2 separate regions of the Homo sapiens genome follow, and region 2 is linked to region 1. Evidence: promoter capture Hi-C in 16 types of primary human blood cells and fetal thymus (Javierre and others, 2016). All regions are on one chromosome and are shown on one strand. Each heading gives the region's core, a stretch centred on a gene start or on the middle of the fragment in contact. The rest is flanking DNA. Distances are from core to core; before and after follow the strand shown. Region 1 holds the start of NELFB (negative elongation factor complex member B). Region 2 holds the start of LCN10 (lipocalin 10).

Region 1 (7,007 bases), core at 2,852-5,351:
TAAACAAACAGGGAAGGGAGGACAGAGGTGGCACTGCCACCCCCAACAAGCCTGCTGCTGCCCACGCACATGGTCAGGAACCACGGCCCGAAGGGAACCCAGAGCCACACTAACTGCTCAGCGTTTGAAGTGCAGTAGTTCAGATGGGCTCTAAGCATGAAAGACTCACCAGGTTTCAAATCTTAGTGATCCTCCCGCAAAAAGCATTATAGCTCAATATTTTTTTTTTCCTTTTGAGACAGGATCTCTCACTCTGTCGCCCAGGTTGGAGTGCAGTGGCTCAATCATACCTCACTGCAGCCTCAATATCCGAGGCCTAAGCAATCCTCCTGCTTCAGCCTCCTGAGTAGTTGAGACAACAGGTACGCACCACCATGCTTAGCTTAATTTTTTTTTCTTGTAGAGACAAGGTCTCCCTTTGGTCTTTAACTACTAAGCTCAAGCGATCCTCCCACCTCCGCCTCCCAAAGTACTAGGAGTACAGGCGTGAGCCACCGTACCCAGCCCAATCTTTCACATGAATTACATGCTGAAAGATAATATTTTGGATATACTGGACCAAAGAAAACATTAATGAAGTTGATCTCATTTTTTTTTCTTAATGTGGATGCTGAAAAATCTTAACTTATAGTTCGCTTTTTCCACTGAACAGTGCTAGTTTAAAGTTGGTTAGGGCCGGGCGCAGTGGCTCACACTTGTAATCCCAGCACTTTGGGAGGCCAAGGTGGGCGGATTACCTGAGGTCAGGAGTTCAAGACCAGCCTGGTCAACATGGTGAAACCCTGTCTGTACTAAACAAAAAAATAAAAAAATTAGCCAGGCATGGTGGGGCGCGCCTGTAGTCTCAGCTACTCGAGAGGCCGAGGCAGGAGAATTGCTTGAACTCAGGAGGCAGAGGTTACAGTGAGCCGAGATTGAGGCCCTGCACTCCAGTCTGGGTGACAGAGCAAGACTCTGTCTCAAAAAAAAAAAAAAAAATTGGCTAATTAAAAAATCTCACAACCAGTTGTGGTCGCTCACACCTATAATCCCAGCACTTCAGGAGGCTGAGGTGTGCAGACAGATTACTTGAGCCCAGGAGTTCGAGACCAGCCTGGGCAACACAGCGAAACACCAACTCTGCAAAAAGTATACAAATTAGCCAGGCATGGTGTCACACACCGGTGGTCCCAGCTGCTTAGGAGACTGAGGTAGGAGGATTGCTTGAGTCCAGGAGGTCGAGGCTGCAGTGAGCCACGATCACACCACTGTACTCCAACCTGGGTGACAGAGTGAGACCCTGTCTCAAAAAAAAAAAAAAAAAAAAAAACCCCAACAAATCTCGGCTAGGCATGGTGCCTCATGTCTGTAATCCCAGCACTTTAGAAGGCTGATGTGGGAGGATCGCTTCAGCCCAGGAGTTCAAGACCAGCCTGAGCAACATAGCCAGACCCCACCTCTACAAAAATATATATATATTTTTAAGTAGCCCCAGTGTGGTGGCACGTGCCTGTGGTCCCAGCTACTCAGGAAGATCACTTTAGCTCAGGAAGTCAAAGCTGCAGCGAGTCGTGATCACGCCACTGCACTCCAGCCTGTGCAACAGAGTGAGACCCTGTCTCTTAAAAAAGAAAAAAAAAGAAAAAAAGCCAGGCACGGTGGCTCACCCCTGTAATCCCAGCACTTTGGGAGGCCGAGGGGGGCGGATCACCTGAGGTCAGGAGTTCAAGACCAGCCTGACCAACATGGAGAAATCCCATCTCTACTAAAAATACAAAATTAGCCGGGCGTGGTGATGCATGCCTGTAATCCCAGCTACTCGGGAGGCTGAGGCAGGAGAATTGCTTGAACCTGGGAGGCGGAGGTCGCAGTGAGCCGAGATCACGCCATTGCACTCCAGCCTGGGCAACAATAGCGAAACTCCGTCTCAAAAAAAAAAAAAAAGAAAAAGAAAAAAAATTAGCCAGGCATGGTGGCGGGCGCCTGTAGTCCCAGCTACTCGGGAGACTGAGGCAGGAGAATGGAGTGAACCCGGGAGCTTGCAGTGAGCCGAGATCACACCACTGCACTCCAGCCTGGGCAACAGAGCGAGACTCCGTCTCAAAGAAAAAGAAAAAAAGTAGGGGAGGGGGGATTAACTTCACATGAGCGGGCTTTCCGCAGATTTTAAATGTTGTCCATATATCACTTTAACGAAAAGTAAAATGCAAACAGAAAAACAACCAACTTTCTTTCCAGCATGTGTACAAGCCAGCCCTCCCCCACCACCCAGCCAAGAAGCAGAACCACCCGATCATTCACAGGGCAGCAGAGTGCTGATCCCCAGGCAGCTGAAGGCGCTAGCCGTGGCATCCCCAAGAGGTGCCCCACCCCGCACACGGCCTGTCCCCTCACCTCGCCCTGGCGCCTGGTCTTGGGGGAAGGACTGAAAAAGTTGTGCAGGACAGAGAGCTCTGTACTGAAGAGAGCGCTCTCCTTCTCCAGGATGTACTGCTTCAGGAGTGGGGAAACCTCGTCCCCGAAGAGGGCCTGGTTGTCTTGCCAGATCTGCCGCTTCACCTCCACGGCGCAGGCTCGATACAGCTCCTTGTCAGCCATAACCAGCTTCAGTTTTTTCTCCGGAACCTACATGACACCACAGGCTGCCTGTGAGTGGCACCTGTGTCCCTGGGTCTCCTTCAAGACAAGCCAAGAGGCCTCAGCCCCGCAGAGACCACCTCGAGCTAAGCTCCACCCCACAGGGCACCTATGACTGGTTCCCCGGCCCCAGCATGTCAGACAGACATGCTAAATACCAACAGCTCTTTCCCAGGAGGGGCCCCACACCCTAACTCCAGTGCTAAGGTTCGGTCTCCACGCGGCTCATGTGGGAGAAGTCAGCACAGAGCTCACCATGGACAGCACTTGGGCAGGCAGCACAGGAAGCTCCCGGAGCTAGGCGGCCACCGGAACTTCCACTAACCAAGGGCATGAGAGTGGGCGGACGGTCCACGCCATCAGGGTTAGGGTTAGGGCCCTACCTTGGGCAGGTGCTTCATGACGCACATCACCACGGGCTGCAGGGACGGCATCTTCACCAGAGAAAAGCTCTTCTCCAGAAGGTCTTCCAGCTTCTTGTACCTGGAACAACTCACAGGATTGATGGTGCAGCGATGCGCCAAATCGCAGCAGCTACCTGCCTGTCCCTACACAGATAACAGCTACCAGGACAAGCCTCCACGCCCAGGACACATGGGTCAAGGGGTCACTCAGACACAGGCCCAGGCCACCTCTGGGAGCAAGGATGTGGAGCCAAAAGGACAATAAATGCCCCTGAGTCGATCCAAGGCTGAGAGGCCGGCTGCACATCTCACCTGCCCACCCCTCCCGCTGACCCACCTTTCCTCAGCCTTCCCCTCCGAAGCGATGGCTGACACTCGCTCCAGCAGCTTGTCCCGCAGCTCATCGAATACCGACTGGTGGAACTCCAGCCGCGGCGTCCCGTGCAGGTCCAAGAAGGGGAGGGCTGACTGAAGAGATGGCAGCAGCACACCATTCTCTGTCTGAGGAAGCCAAGAGAAACCTCAAACGCAGCCCAGTGCGCCCGGGCACCCCGAGGTCCTGAGAGCACAGGGAGGCACGCACCCAGGTGTTCCCAGCCGTGCTGGCGGTAACCGCAGCCACCGAAAGCCACCCAGCCGTCCAGCAAAGGGGTGCTGGCTCCGGACTCCACCCCCAGAACAGGACTCAGCCACCAGCAGAAAGCCGGAAAACTTCCGGCGCCTCCGCCAGGCCCGACTCCCGAGCAGGCGGCCCGGCCCTCCAACTGGGCTCCCCCCGCCCCGGGGGCCGCCCCACCTGGAACTGCTCGATGGCCTTGAGCGGCTCCGTGCAGTTGGTCAGGGTCTCCTTCAGGTCCTCGCCGTTGGCCACGCCCAGGTCCTGCAGCCCCGCGAACATGGCCGAGGCCCCGGCCACCGCCCGGCTAGGCGCCCCATCCCCAGCCCGTTCCCCCGGCGCCGCCGCAGACACCCCAGAAGCCCGCTCCGCCGGGCCTCGGGGACCGCCCGAGCCCCGCTCCCCGGCGCCCTCCAGCTCGGCCAGGTCCCGCCCGCCGCGCGACTCCGCGCGCGTCCCGCAGCCGCCCACTTCCGCCCCGCACCGCCCAGGTCCGCCCGCCAACCGGCCCCCGGGAAACGCCGCCGGGGCCGCGCGCAGGTTCCTGGGAGCAGCGCCCTCACCCGGCGCGAGAGACCCCGCCCAGCCAGCCCAGCGCGCATGCGCCCACCCGGTCCCGCCCGCGCCCGGGCTTTCTGGCAGAAGAGGGCGGGTGAGGGCGTGGGGGGCGGACTCAGGGTCCGTCTGCTCCGGGAACGGACGTCGTCGCAGCCGAGTGAATTTCGTGTACATAAGCGTGGAAAACGCTCTTGCAGATCTCGCGGCAGCCACGCGCAGCGGGGACGTTTTGCCGGGGGTTGAGCTCCCCGCCCCTCTGCCCCGCAGGGGCCGGACACAGGCGCAGACTCCCTCCTGAGCGTGGGTTCCTCCGCGTGAAACGGGCACGAAGCCCACCCCGGCGCTGTCGCCAAAACTGAGATCTGAGCGCCTTCAGGGGGCCGGGGCCTGGCGGAGACCGGGCCCGCAGCGGGAGCGCGAGCGACGGCCGCCCTCCCAGGCACCGGGAGGCTGTGGCGCCCACCGAGCTCCGCGGAGCCGTGAAGGAGAGTCCAGGTTCCACAGTGTCCCTTCTTATCCCAGGCGGGTGGGCTCCCCGGGCCTCCCCGCCTCTCCAGCCCGCCGCCCTCCCGCAGGCTGTGCCGCGCCAAGCCCCCTACACACACCCTCTCTCTTTTCGGTCTCCGCTGCTGAAATTTTCTCTAGAAATTTCTTTCCCGCTGCCCAGCAAACTCTTGCTCTTCCTTGAAGGCTTCTTCCTCCACCACCTCCTCCAGGAAGCCCTCCCTCCTCAGCCCAGCTGGAGGAGATCGCTCCATCTTTCCTGCCGCTCCCACTCCTAGCTTTGGGTCTCACCAGGGGTGCCTGGTGGTGCAGCCGTGAGCAGAGCTCCTGTTCCCACAAGCCGGGCCGAGCTCCCAAGGCCATGGCTACCACAGCTCTCTTGCCGCTGGCCAAGTTGGTCAGCCCTAGGGCGAGGGTTCCAGTGCCTTGATCCAACCCCCAGCTGGTTCGGTGGCAGAGGAGGACAAGGGTCACAGCACACACACAATCCTGAGCCTGGGATTCCTCTCTGAGAAAGGGGGTGGTGCTGAGGCCACAGAAGCAGCTGCCCAGAGCCTTTTTGAAGGGGTTGAGCTCTGGGCCTGGTCTGGGTCCTGGGTCTGGGGAGGACCTGGGGAGGTGCGGGTGACGGCACCGCAGGTAAGGCTCCTGCAAGGTGGCAGCCTTGGGGCCCGACCCTGGGTAGGAGGGCAGGCCAGTGATGACAAGGGAGGCCCCAGCCAGGCGAAGTTGCAGGCAGGGGCAGTGCAGGGTCCCAGCAGGTGAAGGCCCCGGGAGTGGAGTCTGCAGGGCCCTGGGCCAGAGTGTTCAGGGCACAGGTGACTAAGCCCAGCCAGGTCTTCAGCTCAAGGCCTAGGGGAAGTGGGGCTGGGCCCTGGTGAGCAGATCCCTGGGCCCTTCCTGAGGTCTGGCCAGGCCGACCCCACCTGGAGGTGGCGGCTCAGGGCATTTGACGCCTCCTTCCCAGTTCCCTGGCTCGGCAAGCAGCTGACCCTCAGGTGGACAGCAGCTAGACCAGGCCCCTGAGTGACACGGCTGGGTGGGGGTGTCCCACAGAGCCCACCTCCCATCTCGCTCCAGGCTAGAGCTCAGGGTCAGTCACAGGCTGCCACCCTAGAGAAGAGAGCACCTTTCAGGGGCAGCTGAATGGAGACCCCTCAACAGGGAAAGCCGGAAATGACCCAGCGGCAGCCATATCTCTAGGACCGCCCCCGGGTGAAGGACAGACAACTGCACACCACAGAGCTCGGGAAAACCAACAGCATCTCAGTGTAGCGGGGAGATGGGCAGATGGGGGATCCAGGCTGGGCCAGCCTTGTCCACAGCCCATAGAAGGGTTGGCCAGCCAGAAGGGTGCATCGGGGTGCCCAGAGGGTCAGAAGGCCAGGCTGGGGCCCCAAGTCCCAGGGGAGGCCTGGGAAAGCCCCGGGGGAGGCCATGGTTCCACTCGGTGGCCGGGCCAAGCAGGTTGTGCCCAGCTGGCTCTAGAGCGTGCAGAAGGGGCCTGTGTCGTGGCGCTTGGGTCTGCGTACACCCTGGATGACCACGCCAGGCGCCGAAGGGAAGCGTGAGTTGCAGTCCTCCACGTGGTAGGCGGCTGGGCCAGGGGTTCGGGCTGCCGAAAGAGAAGGCTGGGAGCCCCACCCAGGTAGCAGCCCCAACTCAAACCTGGCTCCCAGTTCCCACCCCCGGCCCCTGAACCCTTGTCCTCACATTGCCCACCCATGCCCCATCCCTAGCCCTCTTCTCTCCAGGCCTCCTTACAGGTGCTGAGCCAGGAGGTGAACGCAGGGGAGCGGCTCATCGAGAAGGCCGGCGAGCGGGGGCTCTGCAGGCGGCTCCCAGGAAGGATATTGTAGGTGTTGGGGCCAGGGCATCTCTTGCCAGGTGCCTGCAAAGAGGCCTGAAGCAGGGACTGGGGCTGCACCCTGAGGCCCAGCCCCCTAGCCCCAGGCAGCCCTAGGTGGGTGTGGCCTTCAGGTGTCTTGGAAGCGGAGTGGCAGCCTCTGAAGCTGAAGGCGGGGAAGGCGGGCCGGCTGAGCAGCTGGTAGTGGGCTGGCGAGGGCCACTGCGAGGGGGTAGGAGACGGGCTGCAGGGCAGGGTGCTCCCCACGGACCCTCAGCCAGCCCCCCTTTGGCCCCACTGGAACCCCCAGCCCCCTGCCTGCGTGGACTCCCCGCCCCCTTCCTGCCCAGCCCCCAACCTTTTGCTCTTGGTCGAAGTCAGCTTTCTGCGTGAAGGGGCTTTCGCTCTGGAACCACAAAGTCTGCCATGCCCTGCGGCCACCGCCCTCTGTAGTTGGAGGATG
Region 2 (4,221 bases), core at 1,115-3,614, 510 kb after region 1:
AGGCGGGGGGTTTTGTTTCCTAGCAATAGGCGTGCTGGAGCTCTGGGTGCTGGCCACCAACTTCAGAGACTATGCCATCATCTTCACTCAGCTGGAGTTCGGGGACGAGCCCTTCAACACCGTGGAGCTGTACAGTAAGTGTGCTGTGCGGGGCCCACGTAGGGAGCTGTGTGGTGCGTGGGCCACTCGGGGCCCACGTTGGGAGCTGTGTGGTGCGTGGGCCGCTTGGGGGCCGCGTGGGGAGCTGTGTGGTGAGTGGGCCGCTCGGGGGCCATGTGGGGAGCTGTGTGGTGAGTGGGCCGCTTGGGGCCACATGGGGAGCTGTGTGGTGAGTGGGCCGCTCGGGGGCCATGTGGGGAGCTGTGTGGTGGGTGGGCCGCACAGGACCACATGCAGGCCAAGTTCCCCCACCTTGAGGCTCGCTGCACTGGAGGTGGCTTTGGAAGGACCGGGGCCAGCATCCCAGGGCAGGTGGCCTCCTTCCTGACCCTTCCCAGCCCCTCCCCGGCCCCTCCCCAGCTCTCAGAGGTTGCTTCCCCCTGCACTGCCCTGGTGCCCCCAGGTCTGACGGAGACAGCCAGCCAGGAGGCCATGGGGCTCTTCACCAAGTGGAGCAGGAGCCTGGGCTTCCTGTCACAGTAGCAGGCCCAGCTGCAGAAGGACCGTGAGTGTCCACCGGAGCAGCCTCGGGGGAGGCTTGGGGCAAGTTCTGGAGCCCACAGGGCGTGATGGGGTGACAGAGACCCTGGGGTTGATTCTGGCTTCTGCCTGACTCAGTCGCCCTGAAGGAGTCAGGCAGGCTGAGGGGGTCTTCACCTGCCCCTGCCCAAAGTCAGGCCTGGGGGTCTTGTCCCCACGGCAGGCGAGTCTTGTGGGTGGGGCCCTGGGGTGCTGGGGGGCTCAGTCCTTTTTCACAGCCAGTCTTGCCTCCCCTTCTAGTCACCTGTGCTCACAAGATCCTTCTGGTAAGCCGCCATCCTGAGCCTCACCCTGGGCTCTCTTGGGGGAAGGGGGTGGGGGAGGCCACCCTACGCACAGTGGGTGGGAGGACCCTCTGCCCAAGCCCACGGGGTTCATGGCTCCACTGTCTCTAAGGCAGCTGAGGGTGTGGAGGAGCCTCCATGGTGGGCTGGGCCCCCTCACACTCCTCTTGGTTTTCAGTGAGTGCTGCGTCCCCAGTAGGGATGGCGCCCACAGGGTCCTGTGACCTCGGCCAGTGTCCACCCACCTCGCTCAGCGGCTCCCGGGGCCCAGCACCAGCTCAGAATAAAGCGATTCCACAGCAAACCAAGGATGCTTTTGACTGGGGGCCAGCCGGGGAATTGCGGGGAGGATGGCGGGGGTCGTCACCAAGGGCCAAGCCACAGAACCATAGAGCCAGCTGCAAAGAAGACGCGTGCCCAACCCAGTCCCTTGCCAGAGCCCCTCTGGGTCTTCAGACACCCAAACTCAGGCCCGGGCTCAGAGGCGGGGGCTGGTCAGAGGACACAGCCTGGGAGGAAGCCAGCAGTGAGCTCCACCAGGACCGCAGCTGGGGTGCCAGAGGCTCCAAGGACTGCCCAGGACAAGAGAGAGGTGGCTGGTGGGGCTCAGAGCAGCCCCTGACTCCCCAGGCTCAGGCTTCTCTGGGCTGGGGTTGTGTCTCTTGCCTGGGCAGGGGCAGGGACCCCAGACACCTGAGCCTGCAGGTCCTCCTGTGTTCTGATGGGTGTGGGGGGCTGCGCTGCCTGCCGTCCTGGGAGAAGCACAGGCCATGGGGGTCTCGGGGCTGGATGGGGGGCTGGGGACTGTGTGAGGCTCATGCTGGAGTGAGGCGAGGTGCACACAGATGCCTTGACCTGCAAGGCTGGGCATGCACACGCATGCACATGTGAGCACACACCCACACATGCACACACACACATTCATGGGCACGGGCACACAGCCCCGGCCCGCCCTTCGGCACCTGCTCAGGTGCTTGGTGCCAGGCCCTCAAGAAGGTGGTGGGGGCTGTGTGTGTGGCTGCCGCGCAGAGCTCACCATGTCCACATCTGCCCCAGAAGGGCCACGACCAGCCCTTTGCCTGTCACCTGGGAGGTCTAGGATGAGGGCCAGGGCTTAATGAGTCTCAGGGGCACACACAGTGACCCCAGGCCGGGCACTGAGGGCAGGAGGGTCCTGGGGCCTCAGAGGGGCCTCTGTCTGCCAGGGCAGCCCAGGCCAGCAGTGACCACCAGGTGGGGCAGTGCCGGCTTCCCTGGAGTGTCTGGGGGTGGTCCCTGGGCGGGGAGAGGGTAGCAGAGCCCAAGGCCACACCTGTTGCCTCCCTCCGCTCCCTCCCCTCCCTCCTCTCCCGACACAGGCTGGCGGCTCCAGAGAGGTTTAAACACTGGCCTTGGCGGCTGAGGGAGGAGGGTGAAGATGAGGCAGGGGCTGCTGGTGCTGGCGCTGGTGCTGGTGCTGGTGCTAGTGCTGGCTGCAGGGTCCCAGGTGCAGGAGTGGTACCCCAGGGAGTCCCACGCCCTCAACTGGAACAAGGTGAGCCATGTGCCACTGGTCCCTGAGCCGGGCGCCGGCTCTGGAGCTGGAGCAGGCTCCTGCACAGTCTCCCGGCAGCCGCCCAGGAGCAGGGCTACCAGCAGTTCCAGGCACGGGCGCTGCCCACCTGGCCTCTCCCACTGCAGCCTCCAGCACAGGGGCCCCGCAAGTTGCAGGGCAAAGGCAGGGAGCCTCGAGGGGGTTCGGGGGCCCAGGGGGGTCAGGGAGGGCCAGGGTGGAGGGGCCCAGAGAGCTGTGGCCGAGGAGGTCGGGAGACGCCCAGAGTGCAGAGTGGGTGTGGAGCAAGCGGGGCATATTCTGTAGCGGGAGGGCCCGGGCACCTGCTGAGTGAGCCGTGGGAGCAGCACTCATTGGCACGGCGGTGCCCAGGGCGCTAGGGTTGGCAGCAGGCAGAGTTGGGGGCCGGGGGCCGGCAGGAAGGGAAGTGGCCGAGCAGTACCCAGCCCCCAGGAGGCCATGTGGGAAGGAGCCGGGGCCTCTGAGGTAGGGGGCCTCCCACCTGCTGGCGCCCACAGCCCAGCCCTTTGCTGCCTGGGGTCCCTGACCAGCCGGGCACCTGCTTCTCTGCAGCCCTGCTCCAGTGGCCAGGGCTTGAGTGGCCGGGACCGAGGCGGCACCTGGGCGGAGCTGGGACTCCGGCTCACAGAAGGGTCATTTGTCTCCTGGGTTCTCTAGCTGGGAACCTCGGGGGTGGGGACAGCCCCCGGTGGCAGCTCCTGTCCCCGCCCACACATCCGCTGCGCAGTTTTCAGGGTTCTGGTACATTCTGGCCACTGCCACTGATGCCCAGGGATTCTTGCCGGCCAGGGACAAGAGGAAGCTGGGGGCGTCCGTGGTAAAGGTGAACAAAGTGGGCCAGCTCCGCGTGCTCCTCGCCTTCAGACGGTGAGTGGGCAGCGCCCCCCAGGCAAGGGTCTCCCCTTCCAGGAGGAGGGAGCTGCCTCGGGGCTGGAAAGGAGTCTGGGAGGAGCCTGTCTGTCTGGAAGTTCCACAAGAACCGTCCCCCCACTTCCTCCCCCTAAACTCAGAGGAAGCCACCTGCAGCCCCTGGGACCCCACATGGGTGGGTGTTGGGAGGAAGCTGCCTGCAGACCTTGGGACCCCACATGGGTAGGTGTTGGGAGGAAGCCGCTTGCAGCTCCTGGGCCCCACACGGGTGGGTGTTGGGAGTTTCTCTCGTGCCGTGGGACAGGCCCCAGTCCGAATTGGAAAATCCTCAAACCACAGAGCCTCAGATTGACACGAGTTGGATAGTGAAGCAAAAAACTGGGGACCTGGGGCCCCAACCTTCCCGGGTCCCACGGGAGCAGGGGCGGGACCGAGACGTGTGGGTGGGGCTCGGTGGCTGGCAGGCGGGAGGAGGGGTTCCCTGGTCTGCAGCCTGAGCCCCCGCCTTGGCCCCAGGTTGAAGGGGTGCCAGTCCCAGGAGGTGATCCTGAGGAAAGACGGGAAGAAGCCGGTGTTTGGGAACGCCTGTGCATACGCGGCGGGCCCGAGGGAAGGACAGGAGGGAGGTGTGCTTGGGCTCTGGGCCCTGGAGGAGCTGCGTGATATGCCTCTGACCCCCCTGTGCCTTGAGCAGGCCCCTTGTCCCCGAGAGCACGTGGCAGGCAGGCGTCAGGCTGGCTGTGTTCCCAGAGCCCACACGTCATGTGCTGGGCGGCCTGGCCCGGGAGGGGAGGC

The links. Contacts are between HindIII fragments. The CHiCAGO score rates a contact against its expected background, and 5 or more counts as called.
Region 2: the fragment with the promoter of LCN10 here is called in contact with the fragment with the promoter of NELFB in region 1 in 9 of 17 cell types (naive CD8 T cells, activated CD4 T cells, total B cells and 6 more); the score reaches 9.7 in naive CD8 T cells.

Annotation. Positions count from the first base shown.
Region 1 is chr9:137,252,421-137,259,427 of GRCh38, reverse strand. NELFB (negative elongation factor complex member B) reads right to left here and starts at 4,101. Exons shown (of 13, transcript NM_015456.5): 1 at 3,817-4,101; 2 at 3,358-3,521; 3 at 3,000-3,099; 4 at 2,374-2,604. The coding sequence starts at 4,062. It overlaps STPG3 (sperm-tail PG-rich repeat containing 3), which reads right to left. Exons shown (of 6, transcript NM_001004353.4): 4 at 6,903-6,991; 5 at 6,463-6,766; 6 at 5,945-6,313. The coding sequence ends at 6,183. STPG3-AS1 (STPG3 antisense RNA 1) reads left to right here and starts at 5,931. Exons shown (of 4, transcript NR_038389.1): 1 at 5,931-6,265; 2 at 6,453-6,553; 3 at 6,922-7,007. It also overlaps a transcript of CIMIP2A not described here. RefSeq lists enhancers at 2,798-3,745, 3,746-4,693 and silencers at 3,704-3,763, 3,804-3,983, 3,994-4,363, 4,554-4,733. The HindIII fragment of the contact is 15,726 bases long and covers 1-7,007 here.
Region 2 is chr9:136,741,083-136,745,303 of GRCh38, reverse strand. LCN10 (lipocalin 10) reads left to right here and starts at 2,364. Exons shown (of 6, transcript NM_001001712.3): 1 at 2,364-2,517; 2 at 3,284-3,423; 3 at 3,943-4,052. The coding sequence starts at 2,401. LCN6 (lipocalin 6) reads left to right here. Exons shown (of 7, transcript NM_198946.3): 4 at 24-134; 5 at 563-664; 6 at 940-965; 7 at 1,162-1,287. The coding sequence ends at 642. RefSeq lists a silencer at 2,860-2,959. The HindIII fragment of the contact is 7,084 bases long and covers 1-4,221 here.